Linked DNA regions of Homo sapiens: region 2 is linked to region 1. Evidence: promoter capture Hi-C in 16 types of primary human blood cells and fetal thymus (Javierre and others, 2016). All regions are on one chromosome and are shown on one strand. The core of a region is centred on a gene start or on the middle of the fragment in contact, and the rest is flanking DNA. Distances in the headings are between cores, read along the strand shown.

Evidence for each region. Contacts are between HindIII fragments. The CHiCAGO score rates a contact against its expected background, and 5 or more counts as called.
Region 2: the fragment with the promoter of COBL here is called in contact with the fragment with the promoter of DDC-AS1 in region 1 in 10 of 17 cell types (erythroblasts, M2 macrophages, neutrophils and 7 more); the score reaches 15.9 in erythroblasts.

What each region holds. Positions count from the first base shown.
Region 1 is chr7:50,529,611-50,536,300 of GRCh38, reverse strand. DDC-AS1 (DDC antisense RNA 1) reads right to left here and starts at 4,542. Exons shown (of 5, transcript NR_033845.1): 1 at 4,419-4,542. The region is part of intron 4 of DDC (dopa decarboxylase); the gene reads left to right. RefSeq lists enhancers at 330-1,529, 3,893-5,092, 5,452-5,621, 5,470-5,639. The HindIII fragment of the contact is 9,169 bases long and covers 2,672-6,690 here.
Region 2 is chr7:51,312,642-51,319,331 of GRCh38, reverse strand. COBL (cordon-bleu WH2 repeat protein) reads left to right here and starts at 2,523. Exons shown (of 13, transcript NM_015198.5): 1 at 2,523-2,739. The coding sequence starts at 2,699. It overlaps LOC124901633 (a long non-coding RNA gene), which reads right to left and starts at 2,348. Exons shown (of 2, transcript XR_007060324.1): 1 at 2,108-2,348; 2 at 1,000-1,285. RefSeq lists enhancers at 1,079-1,671, 1,672-2,265. The HindIII fragment of the contact is 13,046 bases long and covers 1-6,115 here.

The sequences.
Region 1 (6,690 bases), core at 3,293-5,792:
TGGTTTGGTCTGGAAAGGTGGGACAATTCAAAGCAGGGAGGGGGCTTTCAGGTCATAGGTAGATAAGAGACAATTGGTTGCATTCTTTTGAGTTTCTGATTAGCCTTTCCAAAGGAGGCCATCAGATGTGCAGCTATCTCAGTGGGCAGAGGGGTGACTTTGAGTTCTGTCTGTCCTTCATCCAAAAGGAAATTCCTTATGAGGGAGGCATGTAGCTTTTTATCTTAGTAGCTATCTCTTTTAGGAATAGAATGGGAGGCAGGTTTGGCCTAAGCAGTTCCCAGCTTGACTTTTCCCTTTGGCTTAGTGATTTGGGGGTCCCAAGATTTATTTTCCTTTCACACTTTCCTGGTCGCATCTCCTTGTGACCACATATAAGATCGGAAAGTGGGTCTCCACTTTTAAGGACACATATGATTGGATTGGGTCCATCCAGGCAATCTGAGATAATCTCTCAAGTCAAGTTTCTTAACTTAATCACATCAGCAAAGTCACCTTTTCCCTGGAAGGGAAACAGTCACAGATTCTGGGGACCAAGACCTGAAATCTCTGGGAATGAGGGTGCATTAATGTGCCTACCACATCCAGTGTGCTTCAGAGTCATGGAGGGAACTTGCTTGTAATGCCTATTCCTAGACTCTGGGCCAAAAAATGTGAACGCTAATTCATCCGGATGACACCCAGATTCCTGAATAGGCCACATGCCGGGACTGATGACTGCCTTCTCCATGACCCACAGGCCCTGTGGCCAGGCTCAGAGTCATCCCTCCACGTGCTCCTCCTTCGCATTCTTTGGTTATCTCTTTTTCCATCAGACATAAGTGATATTAAATGGGGAGCTGAGGAAAATGAAATGTCAGGCATAGTGGCTCACGCCTGTAATCCCAGCACTTTGTGAGGCCAAGGCAGGCAGATCACCTGAGGTCAGGAGTCTGAGACCAGCCTGGCCAACATGGTGAAACCCTGTCTCTACTAAAAATACAAAAATTATCCAGGTGTGGTGGCGGGCACCTATAATCCCAGCTACTTGGGAGGAGAATTGCTTGAACCTGGGAGGCAGAGGTTGCCGTGAGCCAAGACCTTGCCATTGCACTCCAGCCTGGTTGACGAGAGGGAAACTCCATCAAGAAAAAAAAAAAAGAAAGAAAAGAAAACGTCAGCTATGTTGTAAGCAAAGCTTCAATACGTTGCTGTGAACCATACCATTCTACGTAGCAGCAACAATGACTCAGCAATGATTCAGCAAATGAATCATGCTTCAGTCCCAGCACAATTTTCTTCTGGTCAGTGAGTATGCAGCTGGAGAAGCCTCCTTGGCCAAGATCACAGCAAGGATAGGCTGTCACAGGTGCCCTTCCAGCGAGGGGAGGGAGCTACTGCACACTGTCCGCAGCCAGTGCTCTGTCAGCTGCACTTTGCCTTGGTGAGGGCCAGATGGCTTTCTGGCCTCTGGAACATCAGTCCTGATTCTCCAGGGGACAGAGGGCAGCAGCACTCAGCGACCCAGTGGGACAGCTGCGTGCCTGCAGAGGGCGTGGTTTTGATTCCAGGCAAGGGCATGCATGGTCTAACCCTTTACAAGAGGCCTCGATGTTGGTGGCCGACTTACTTTTTCTTTTAGTTTTATACACGGGACAAGGTCTACTTTTCCATTTCTTTTCCATTTGTTCCTCTCATTTTTTTTTTTTATTTTGTCTTGTTTTTAGACGAAGTCTCATTCTTGTCGCCCAGGCTGGAGTGCAGTGGCACGATCTCAGCTCACTGCAACCACTGCCTCCCGGTTCAAGCCATTCTCCTGCCTCAGCTTCCCAAGAAGCTGGGATTACAAGGCACCCATCACCATGCCTGGATAATTTTTGTATTTGTAGTAGAGACAGGGTTTTGCCATTTTGCCCAGGCTGGTCTCAAACTCCTGACCTCAGGTGATCCACCCACCTCGGCCTCCCAAAGTGCTAGGATTACAGGTGTGAGCTGTAGGAGATCGGTCAGAGTGGTGGGAGAAACTATAGGGAAAAGGAGCAGGCCTTCTGAAAGGTCAGAAGGCTCTGCAAAGCTCCATGGCAGAATAGCTGAAGGCAGCTGTTCTATAACCCTGAGGCAGAGGATAAGGAGTAGGTACAAGGGAGTGTAGGGGAATTTATCTTGGTCAAGCTTGTTTGTTAGAAGTTGTCCAGGAACTGACCTCGGAACATCCTTGCACGTGACATTCCCTGAAAGGGGAACAATAAATGTTAATTATCTACAGGTTGTGTTTGCTCCAGGTTTTCAGCATTGTGCTTGCACTCAATAAAAGCAAGCTGCTCCAGCTTCTCAGGGCTGCTCTCTGGCCACTAGAGCCAGGCAGTCACTTAGCTGCTCTTACACTGCATACCTGTGTCTGAGCACTCATTTCCTCCATCGGCCAGGGTCTGCAGGACAGATCCAGCAGTGAGCCACTGCACCCAGACTGTTCCCCTCATTTTGACCCTCCCTAGCATTTGGTGAGCCCTGCTGATTCAAGACTCAGCTCTGTGCAGTGTGGAGATTTTTCTTCTACTGTATGTTAGTTATTGTGGGCCACGTCACTCTTTTTCAGGGACTTCAATTTTCCACAGATTGGGTACCTCTTCCATGATTTCTCTCTTCCTTTCGATATTTCCCTTTTTTGTTATCTTCTATATTTTAGGAAGCTTTTCATGGTTTTCTCCACATGATTATGTGATTATGGACCTGGTGTGGTGGCTCACGCCTGTAATCCCAACACTTTGGGAGGCCAAGGCGGGTGGATCATTTGAGGTAGGAGTTTAAGACCAGCCTGGCCAACATGGTGAAATCCCATCTCTACTAAAAATACAAAACTTAGCTGGACATGGTGGCATGTGCCTGTAATCCCAGCTACTCAGGAGGTTGAGGCAGGAGAATCATTTGAACCCAGGAGGTGGATGTTGAGGTGAGCTGAGATCATGCCACTGCACTCCAGTCGGGGTGACAGAGTGAGACCCTGTCTCAAAAAAAAAAAAAAAAGTCCCCTTTCCACCTAGATACTGGACATTCATGGTAAAAATGAAAAGACACAGGAGCTTTCTTGTCATATTCCCTGTGTTATTTCAGTATCTACATGTGAATATATGTATACAGACAAAATTGAAATGATACTACGCATATGGATTTTCTGCATGGTGCTTTCCTTATCATTTTATTGTGAGCATTTCCCACTATTTAAATATTGTTTGAAAAAAGTATTACTCCATGATTTTCTATGATGCATCACAATCTATATAAATATATAAATAATACCTAAGATATTTGTGTTGCATCAAATTTTCCATTCTTATAAAAAAAATTTTGGAGGACACCCTTTAGGATGAAGTGCAACAATCTTCCAAGATGATCACCTTCCTCCTAGGACTCTCCTGGCTGTATTCATGTTTAACATTCATGCTCCCCACTAAATCCAAATGGAACAAAACAAAAATTGAAGCATTTCTAGGTCATTGCATCTTATAACAAAAACAATTTCATATTCAATTTTTTCAGCAGATGATTCCTCTAATTATATACTCCTCAAAAAAATCTTATCAATCCCTCATAATATAAGCTGTGTCTATTATAATAAGAGCTACTTTTCATTGAATAGCAATTATGAGCTTGGCTATGTTTTAGCCTATGTCTTGTGCTTTGTGTTATTGTCTTCATCCTCAAAGTATTTATGAAGATTGATTGGATTATGGACAATCTTTTTCATGGATGAGGATATTGAGTCCCAGAAAGTTAGTAGAACATGCATAGCAGCAAAAGTGAATTAAAGCCAAGGCTAGTAGGAAAGACAACCAGAGTTATGACTGTTACACCAGCTCATCCCTGACCATAGGCTTGGGTTGGTGTCCAGAGATGTGCATGCTACTATGGGCTGCATTTTCGTTTCATTAAAGACAACCTCATTTTTGAGAGACCATACAAGTCTTTAGCATTTGGGTAGGAATATTCCTGGCATCTCTCAGCCCCCGCTTTAACACAATCTTCCTGTGAGCCCAATCCACTCAGTTTTTTTCTGGATGAAAGGAAGAAATGGGATCTGTGTTTGCCACCGGAAGCTCACCCTTCTCAGCAGACAAGGCTGATTGTCTGTAATTGGTGAGGCCCCAAAGAGCACAGGAGCCTGGTGACAGCCTGTGAGCCAGCCTGCATTATTGATCCCCTCAGAGCTGTAATCACAGCTGTGGGCGTCAGCGCAGTGATGCGTGTCTGAGTCAAATGGCAAACTGTTGTTGTGAGGCTGGACAAATGTGGTCTGGGAAAATGGTCTCTTAATTGGGTTTTAAAGTTCTTGTGGAAGAAAAGACAATTTTTTGCTTCGAAAAAAACTGAAGATGAAAGGACATTTCTGCTCACGGCATCAGCAGCCAGAAGCGTCAGACCTTACCAGCATCCCCTCCTACCTCCTGAGCAGGCTTGCCATGGCAACCTTTGTCTGCTGCTATCGCACAGAGCCATCGTTCCTGCTCTGTACCACATGTCACCCTCCCCGTGCTTCTCTCCGCGAAGATCTGCTGCCAGCAAAGTGCAGAGAGCTCCACCTGACATCATGCTTGAGGCCACCAGGCCACCCTGGTGGCATCGGGGTGGTGTGGTTCTAGATGTGCTACTGACGATTTGCTCCTTCAGGCTTTTAAAACATCATTTTGTTGACTTAAGAAGGTGAATTTTCTCTTAGGACATGAACTAAGCTCCCCCATCCCCCCCCAGAGAAAAGCCATAATGAGTTGTCATGGTGATTCAGGTGATTCATGGTGACTCATTTCATTAGAATGTTCAGAGAATGAACACCTGCGTTCCAACGCTTCAAGCAGAGGGTAGAATTTAGCCGGGGAAGCTGCAGTCACGCCTGCTTGTCAAGCATCAGAACAGGGAATTGTGCCTTCCACCAGGCTTTTCATGTTACATTTCCAATGAGAATGGGTGGGACATGACAAACAAAATGTGTGTGGGGGCAGATAGGGGGACAGGAGGAAATCAGGGACAGGAATGATGGGGTACATAGGAGAAGTGTAAGTAAGGTACAATGCCTGCTCTCAGGGAGCCTGGGTTTCCTGGGATGGCTGATTTAGCTTTGCCAGCCAAAATTGGTTTCTCCCCTTCTCTCTCCTCTGGCCAAGGTTTGTAAACCTGGCCTAAAACAATGTCTAAAATCATTGCTCATGAAAATATAGCCTGAAGGAAATAAAGTACCCATTTTAGATGCTGAATTAAGAGACGCATATATCTGTATATTTGAACCCATCCATTAGTGCTACAGAAACATGAATAAATGTATTTATCTTTCAATATTACTGTCCCACCAAAGGATGTGGGTTGGCTCAAAAGAATAAGTAAAAGTAGTGTCAAGGCAAAGTCAAAATGAGAAATCAGGGTCAATGAAGAGAGCATCAAATGTTAAGAAGAGAGGTTAGCATTTCTACTTAATTATTTTATTATATATTTCTCTGTAAAAACCTATCATGTTATAAACTTTTTCAGAGTCAACAAGAACCTACCTTCTTTTATTTGCCCTTTCTAATGTCCTTTCATACTGGTCGGTAGATGGGTTTCTTCTACGACTTACTTAAGAGGGAAGGTGCTCGCTGCCCCTACCTTTCTAGGCCCATGGCACCCTAAAAAGCGCAGGCGTGGGCTCACTCCTAACCGTGCCCTACCTAGCTGCTGATTTGGGGCAAGTTAGTGAACCTCTCTGCACATCTGTTTCCCCACCTGAAGATGATAAAACACAAAAATGGGATTATTTTTACAACTTAAATGGGATAACATAGCAGGCCCTGAATCCATTAGTTTGCCAGGGGTTCCCTAACAAAATACCACTGACTGGGTGGATCGAAGAAGAATTTCTTTTCTCACAGTCCCGAAGGCTGCAAGTCCAAAATCAAAGTGTCCACAGGGTTGGTTCTCCTGGGGCCTCTCTCCTGGGCTTGCAGATGGCCACCTTCTCCCTGTGTCCTCACATGGTCTTCCCTCTGTGCACCCACATGTCTGGGGGCCACATTTCCCCTTCTTTTTATTTATTTATTTTTTTGAGACTGGGTCTCACTCTGTCGCCCAGGCTGGAGTGCAGTGTTGTAATTGCGGCTCACTGCAACCTCCGCCTCCCAGGCTCAAGTCATCCTCCCACCTCAGCCTCTCGAGTAGCTGGGACTACCAGGCACGCCACCATGCCTGGCTAATTTTTGTATTTTTATAGATACAGGGTTTCGGTATGTTGCCCAGGCTGGTCTCGAACTCCGGGGCTCAAGTGATCGACCCTCCTCTGCCTCCCAAAGTGCTGGGATTATAGGCAAATTTCATATTATCAGAAACATGTCAGATTGGATTAGAGCCCAGCCATGTGACCCCATTTTCTTTTAATTACCTCTCTAAAAAGCCTATCTCCAAATATGGTCACATCTGAGGTCCTGGGGGTTAGGGCTTCAACACATGAATTTTTGGGGACACAATTCAGCCCGTGTCATTAGGAATCAAAAGAAACCCTTTAAGGCATCTCTTAGTCTCAAGGAAAATGCACCCCTATTTTATAAACAAATGCAAATCGCTCTGTCCGAGTGAATATGAACGCAGAGTCAGGCTTGCATGCTGGTGCCCTGGGCCGTTCTCCTCTGATAGAGACAGGAGCAGTCGTCCTAGGCCAGGCTGGGGGCAGTCCATGAGGAGAAGCTCTCACAA
Region 2 (6,690 bases), core at 1,274-3,773, 790 kb before region 1:
GTGTCTCATCCTGACAGCTCTAACCAGGCTTAACCCTCCACTTCATTTCTGGAAACTGGTCCCTGTTGGGTTTCTGAGTAGATGTCTGGGGGCCTTCCAAGGATCTGAGGTTGTCCAGGCCTAGGGTCACCTGGGCCTTTTTCCTAGAACAGCAAGTTGCATCTTGGCCTGGAGGTGGCACGTCACCTCCTTCTCATTGTTTTTCTGGATGTTGAGGAGCTCTCTTACTCTTCACCATCCACCTGCTTCGGGCTTCCTGTTGCCATCTGTGCTCAGCATCTGAGACACTGGGTCACTCCGGGCTTCTTTTGCTCCATGTCCCCACCATACTTCCTCTTGCTGCCTCTGCCAGGTGCTTGGAGTATGTGTCACCTGTGAGGTGGACTTCTCCTTAGGGATTTCAATGGGGTCTGGCTCACAGTGCCTAGTCTAGTTTTCAGCTCTGGCCCCTCCTGGGCAGCCCTTCCCATGGTGGTGTCCAGAGCAAGGAGGGGCTCCCCAGATTTTGGGAGAGACTCTCTAATACCCACACCCAAGGTGCAAGAAGAGATTCATTCATTCAGTGCACCCTTTGTTTACTGAGCACTGACTCCACCCTGCTAGGCACTGCCCTAGATGCTGGGGGTGATAAATCAGACAAAGGCCCAGCGCTTGCTAAGATCACATGCTAGGGAGGAGACCAATGGCAAACACATGAGCAAAATATATGCGGAATAGGATATGTTATTTATGTTTTTTATTCCATTTATATATAATGTATATACATATTTATAAGTTTACATAAATACAAATTTTATGCATTCATATAAACATGTCTATAAATATAACACATTACATGTAAACATTTCTTTATAAACTTACATTTAAATATAAACACACACATATATACACACATACACATATACACACACACATATATATATACACATACACACATACACACACACATACAGTGACAAATGCTCAGAAGAAAATTAGGACAAGGCAGCAGTCAGGAGCTTGAGTGAGAGCTGCTTTTATTTTGTGTTTTAAGACAGGATCTCACTCCATTGTCCAGCCTGCTCCCCACTCGCCGCCCCGCCCCGTAGCTGGGATTACAGGTGTGTGCCACCATGCTCCGCTAATTTTTTTATTTTGTAGAAAGTTCTCCCAGGTTGCACAGGCTGGTCTCCGACTCCTGAGCTCAACTGCTCCTCCGGCCTTGGCTTCCCTGAGTGCTGAGGTTACAGGTGTAAGCCACTGTGCTCCGCAGGGTGCTTTTAGACAGAGAGGCCAGGAAAGGCTCCTTGGGGAGACCACGGGATGAAAAGGAGGAGGAAGAGCACTGTGGAGCAGCATCCCAGCCAGAGGCCCTGAGCCGGGAAAGCGCTCCACTCATGGGAGGCTGGGCTGCAGGGAAGTGAGCCCCAGGGCCACCTGGGGACTTAGGAAACCTTCTAGGTGGGAGCAGGGAGCACCCAAGATCTGCCAGCCACGAGTAAGGACTCACATTTTGCATATAGACTGGTCTGCCCCCCCTTCAGTTAATGAGAAAGCAGGGGATCAGAGGGAGGAAGGCTGCGCAGGCCTCTGGATACCTCATCCAATGACAAGATCGCAAGGGGAGCGTCACCCCCAACGCTATCAGGCTCGCCCGATCTGGCCTCTTGTTGGTCTTTTATTCGAGTCATTGAAACCATATGAAACTGCCACTTTTATAGGTCAGCCCATCATACCAACCAAGATCTTAGAGAGTGGAGGTGAAGTTGGGCAGATAAGGGACCTCTGGCTGACTTGCTCTGGGCCCCGGCGTGGCCGGCAGGACCTGCATATCTGCCCGCCAGCCCGCACTGGAGTGGCAGGGTTGTGCCACAGTAGCGCCCAGTGAATCAGGTTGGCAAACTTAAGCGAGCATTCACCTAGAGCGAGTGAGTTGTTAGCAAAGCGAGGCCGCGCTCCAGCCCGCACTGTTTCTGATTCCGTGGGACCTGGTGGGCCCCAGAAATCTGCATTTCTAACAAGTTCCCAGGTGTTCCTGACGCTCCCGGTCGGGACTCCCACTTTGCGACCCTACGCACTAGACATTTGCTGCACGGATAAAGGTCAGAGAGCGGTGCCGGACACTCACTTCTCACCCTCCAACGTCAGTCCTCCCGGGCTGGTCCGCCCACCTCGCCCTCGCACGGCCTCCAGGCTCCAGGTGGTTCCCCTCCCCCAACTCCGCCAGGAGGCGCCGGCCCCGGGATCCCCCACTCCGCCCAGAGAGGGTCGCGCTCCCCCCAGGGGTGGAGGAGCACGGGGAGAAGCCCTCTGCCGCACCCGCGGGTGTCGGTGCAGGGCCCAGGTGCCGGAGGATTCCTTCCCCGGACGCTCGCCGCGGGCCGGGTCGGGACTCTGAGCAGGCGGGGCGGGGCGGGGCGGGGGCGGCGCTCCGGTGGGCGCGGCAGAGCAGCCGGGGCGGGGGCGCGGCGCACCTTGCTCCCGGCGCCCCCGCCCCGCGCCGCCGCCAGCCCCTCCCTGCGCTCCCGGCGCCCCCGCCCGCTAGAGACGATTCCAGCCCCTTCCGTCCGCCGCGCTCCGCCGCTGTCCTCCGCCGGCCCGCGTGGGAGGACGATGGGTCAGCGCGGAAAAAGTGAATGAGGGCGGCAGCGGTGGCGGCGGTAGCCAGCGCCTGACTCGGCGGGCCCGGAGCACCGCCCGCGTCCCGGCCCCCGGCACCATGGACGCGCCGCGCGCCTCGGCGGCCAAGCCCCCGACCGGGTAAGCGGCCCCGCGGTCGGGCGGGGTGGAGAGGGGGCTTCCCTGGGCTCGGACGCCCGCGTCCGCACCGCGCGCTCCCGGGCAGGGCGCCCTCTCTGCCGCCCCAGCGGGTGCTGGTGGTAGTGGTGGAGCAGGTGGTGCGGTGCTGGTGTTGGGTGCTGGTGTTGGGTGGTGGTGCGTGCTGTGTACTTTGGGCACCCGGGTCGTTGCCCAGGTAACCGTGTCGGGCCGGGGCCGGAGCGCACTTTTCGCGCGGGGTGGTTTGTATGCAGGCGTCCTTATGGGGGTCCCCGCCAGCACAGCCCCCACTCAGCTCCGAGCTTTCCTCAGGCCCCCCAAGTGTTTGCCGTAGGGGTGGAGCGGGGAGCGAGGGGACGCCCGGCCTTTGACTCCGGCCTCTTCCCTGCGGGCTTGCCCCTGGCCGGTTCCCATCAAGTCTTCCCTCTCCCGGCCTCGGCGGCAGCCCCAGGATCGGCTCTCCCGGCAGCGTGGAGGGGAGGGCTCCCCGGCTTCGCAGCCGCCCGGGCCCCGCGTTCTCGGAAGGTGTTCGGATTGCCCGGAGGGTTTCATGGCAGCAGCTCTCCCTCCCTGCCTTTATTCCAGGGTCTCCCCTGGCAGTGGAAGGGGCGTCCTAGTGGGGCCAGGCCTGAGGCGCAGACATCCGTAGCGGACCCGCGAGTCTGGCGGCCCATCCCTGTCTTCGCGATTCCGCTTTTGCCCAAACCTCTCCCGGTTTCTGTTTGCTATCCCCACACCTTGCGTGCAGGGATTACACGTCACATTCAGGATTTGACTCTCAGAAAGAGTAATTTCCCTCAAACAGGACGAGCAGCCCTGCTCATTATTCAGACCCCGAGCCAGGTGCGCCGTGCTCATCCCGGCCAGCGGTGCAGGCTGGGCCGCGGGGTAGCGCGCAGTCCCGGTGGACTTTGTAGTTTTCAGCGCGGCGCGCCGGGGACCTTCGAACTCGCTCGCTCGCCTGGAGCAAATGTGTATGAGTCTTGCAAATGGAATGAGGGTTGGGGTGAGCCCTGCACCTGCTTACTGAATGGGCCCACTTTCTGCTATGGCAACTGGACTTGAAGGAGGCAGCTTTGGGGACAACAAATCTTTTTTTCTGTTACAGTTGTGTCCCACTGACTCACCCTGCCCATGTGCCCATAGGCGGGCGTGTTGCCCAAGTGTGTAAAAGACTTTCAGTCGGGCTCTTTTTAAAATTTTAAAGTTTTCCTTTAATGCCAGGAAAAGGTGAGCCAGGTTAGCAAATCAAATAATCCTGAAGCTGAGGAATGTTAAAAAGAAGTTTTCTTTCTCTCTCTCTTTTTTTTTTTTTGCAGTGCACTTACTGGTGGTTATATAATTCTCTTTGAACAAACAAATTCCCCAGAAAGAAAGTAAATGTGGGAAATCCTTTTTCATGGTAATAGGCATCCCAAAATAACAGGGAAATGTGAAACAGAGGTATCTTTAAATCTGTGGCTTTCATAGCCTATTAAATGAGCCTATTTAAGGACACTGAATTATTTTGTCACTATCACCTTATAAATAAATATGAAGACAGAGAGAACATTTAAAAGGCCGGCAAAACTGTATCCAAAGAGTATCTGTAAGATCCTTGAAGGGAGTCTAATGATAGAAGTGAAAGGACTTACCCTAAGAGCGTGGCACTCTTTTCAGCCTGGTACTGTGTGGCAAGAGGTAGTCGAGGGCTGGCCTTCTCAGGGCTTCCCAGAGCTCTGATTGGCTTTCATATTTGAATTGCAAAGTAAAACTAAGGATTTTTGCTATGGAAAACATGAAATTATTCCTGATGCATTCAGTTCTTTCCCTCACTCATATCCAGTGTCTAATTTACTTGTCCGAACATCTTTGTCCAAGAAATGTAGACATATTATTTTTAACTTCTATTGTTCTCACTTTGTCATTTGTTAATACTTTCAGTGAAGAAGCATCAAGAAAATGTTAATATCCTTATATTTTTTCAGACAAGAATTACGTGTTTAATAAGCAATTTTGTGTTCAAATCTGAGGAGATAAATGGTGTTAGGTCTTCGAATATTTTATATAATTTAGGTGTATGCTTGCTAATTATAAAGGTTAGATATTGCTGTGAAATTTGTGGCTTTAGTACATTATTGGTGGCAGGCAGATTCTGTTGGCTCTTCACTGAGATTACTCCTCTGTTCCCTGAGATTAAGGCAGTGTTTGCAGTGTGCTTGAGGGAAATTTGTTTTCCATCTGATTCTGCAACCGTTTATTATAAAATCAAACTTTCAGTAAGCCTCTGTCTTCCCACATGATAACAAACTGATGTGGTGAAGCTGTTGCTGTTGCTGAAACTACCACTCCTCCTTGTGTTGTATAGAAACAAGCTAGACTGGGTGCAGTGAATTAACGAGATTTCACCCTGTGGCCTACAAACGCTCTTCTAGAAGATTACTGAAGGGAGATAGGTTGGTGAATGTAAACTCACTGACTCTGTGTCTGGCTAAATTATTAACAGGTAGTTATTAGTTATCTTTGTGAAAAACACAAATATACGTTTTTACTTGGATTGAAATTGTATGTTTTTTACTAGGAATTTCATTAAAACAGTGATGTATGACTTCCTTGACTCCTGGGGAAAGTGTTCTTTTAGGAAAGAGGCTGTGTGCAAAAACTAACAAGTCAGACTTGATGTGACTTTTAGGGAGTTTTAGAGCTCAGTTGAAGTATAAGAATTGACAGAATACTCAGAACACAAGTAAAGGCAAATTGCCTTTTGGTGAGGTTTTGAAGTATATTTAACTCTCTACTTTATCTGTTTACTTTGCGTTTGTCTGAATATTTATAGGAGCCATCCCAGTAGTCGGCTGTTACAGAACACAGGGCTAAATTTCCCATTGGACCCTCTGTTAATAAAGGACAGAAGAAGGCTTGCTGTTTGGCAGGACCATGCTTAATTTTTTTTTTCCTATGGAGGAAAGACATGTTTCTGTAGAATACAGTAATCTCCAATGACATGAAATGTCAAAACAGCTGGTGCATTTGATCAATGGCTGTATTCAAGCAGTTTGCTCATGTAAAAATCAGTGGAAGTTTTGCTAATCAGTTTCGTCAAAATGTGGACTTCATGTACACATAGCTGTTATTCATTTCTTTGCATAAATTTATATTTATTTAATCAAGTTATTAGAACCAAAAGAAATTTTAAAAAATTAATCGAAGTGGGTAACTTGAGCTACTCTAGTCCTGTCGGTGCCGCACATAGTATTAAGTGTAGAAGGCCTGTGACTCTTGGTAGTGACATGGGGCAGCCACAGTGACATTTTGTATGAAACCCTCATAAGCATGCAGATATTAAGAAAATATTAACTCTACACCATAATAGGAAGCTTAGGTTTCTAGGCCTTTGGCTTTTGGCTAACATGTTAGAGAAAGTGTTTACATTCTTTCAAATGAGAGCATGTATAATGAACTGTTACATAAAACTTTTCCCGTTAGATTTGAGCATTATTTTTAAAAGATATTACTTCTGAGCTACTCTTTATTTTGGCAATTCATTTAAGAAAGTAAAAGTTAAGAATTGCTTGATGTAATGTGGAGAGTAGGCCTAGGAATTTTAATGTTTTGTAATTAAAATATTTACTAATAAATTAGAAGAGTTGGACATTTCTGTGTTGCAATATCACATAGTCTCAGAGCATTTTTATTATTTCTCAGTGGTTCTATAAAGGGGATAGAACTGAAGTATGATTAAAATTTGTTACAAAGGTATTTGTTAAGTGTTGCATCTCTCCTGCCCCCAGGAACTTTTGCCTGCAGTCCCTCCTGTGTTTTCTCGTGACCTCCAGTGCACAGGTGGAGTGGATTATTATTGAGTGGAACCTTGACCCAGGCAGAGCGACAGCCCCCACGTATATGCAGGCCTGGATTCTGTGGACTTCTTAATTTGGGATCCAGGGAATGAAG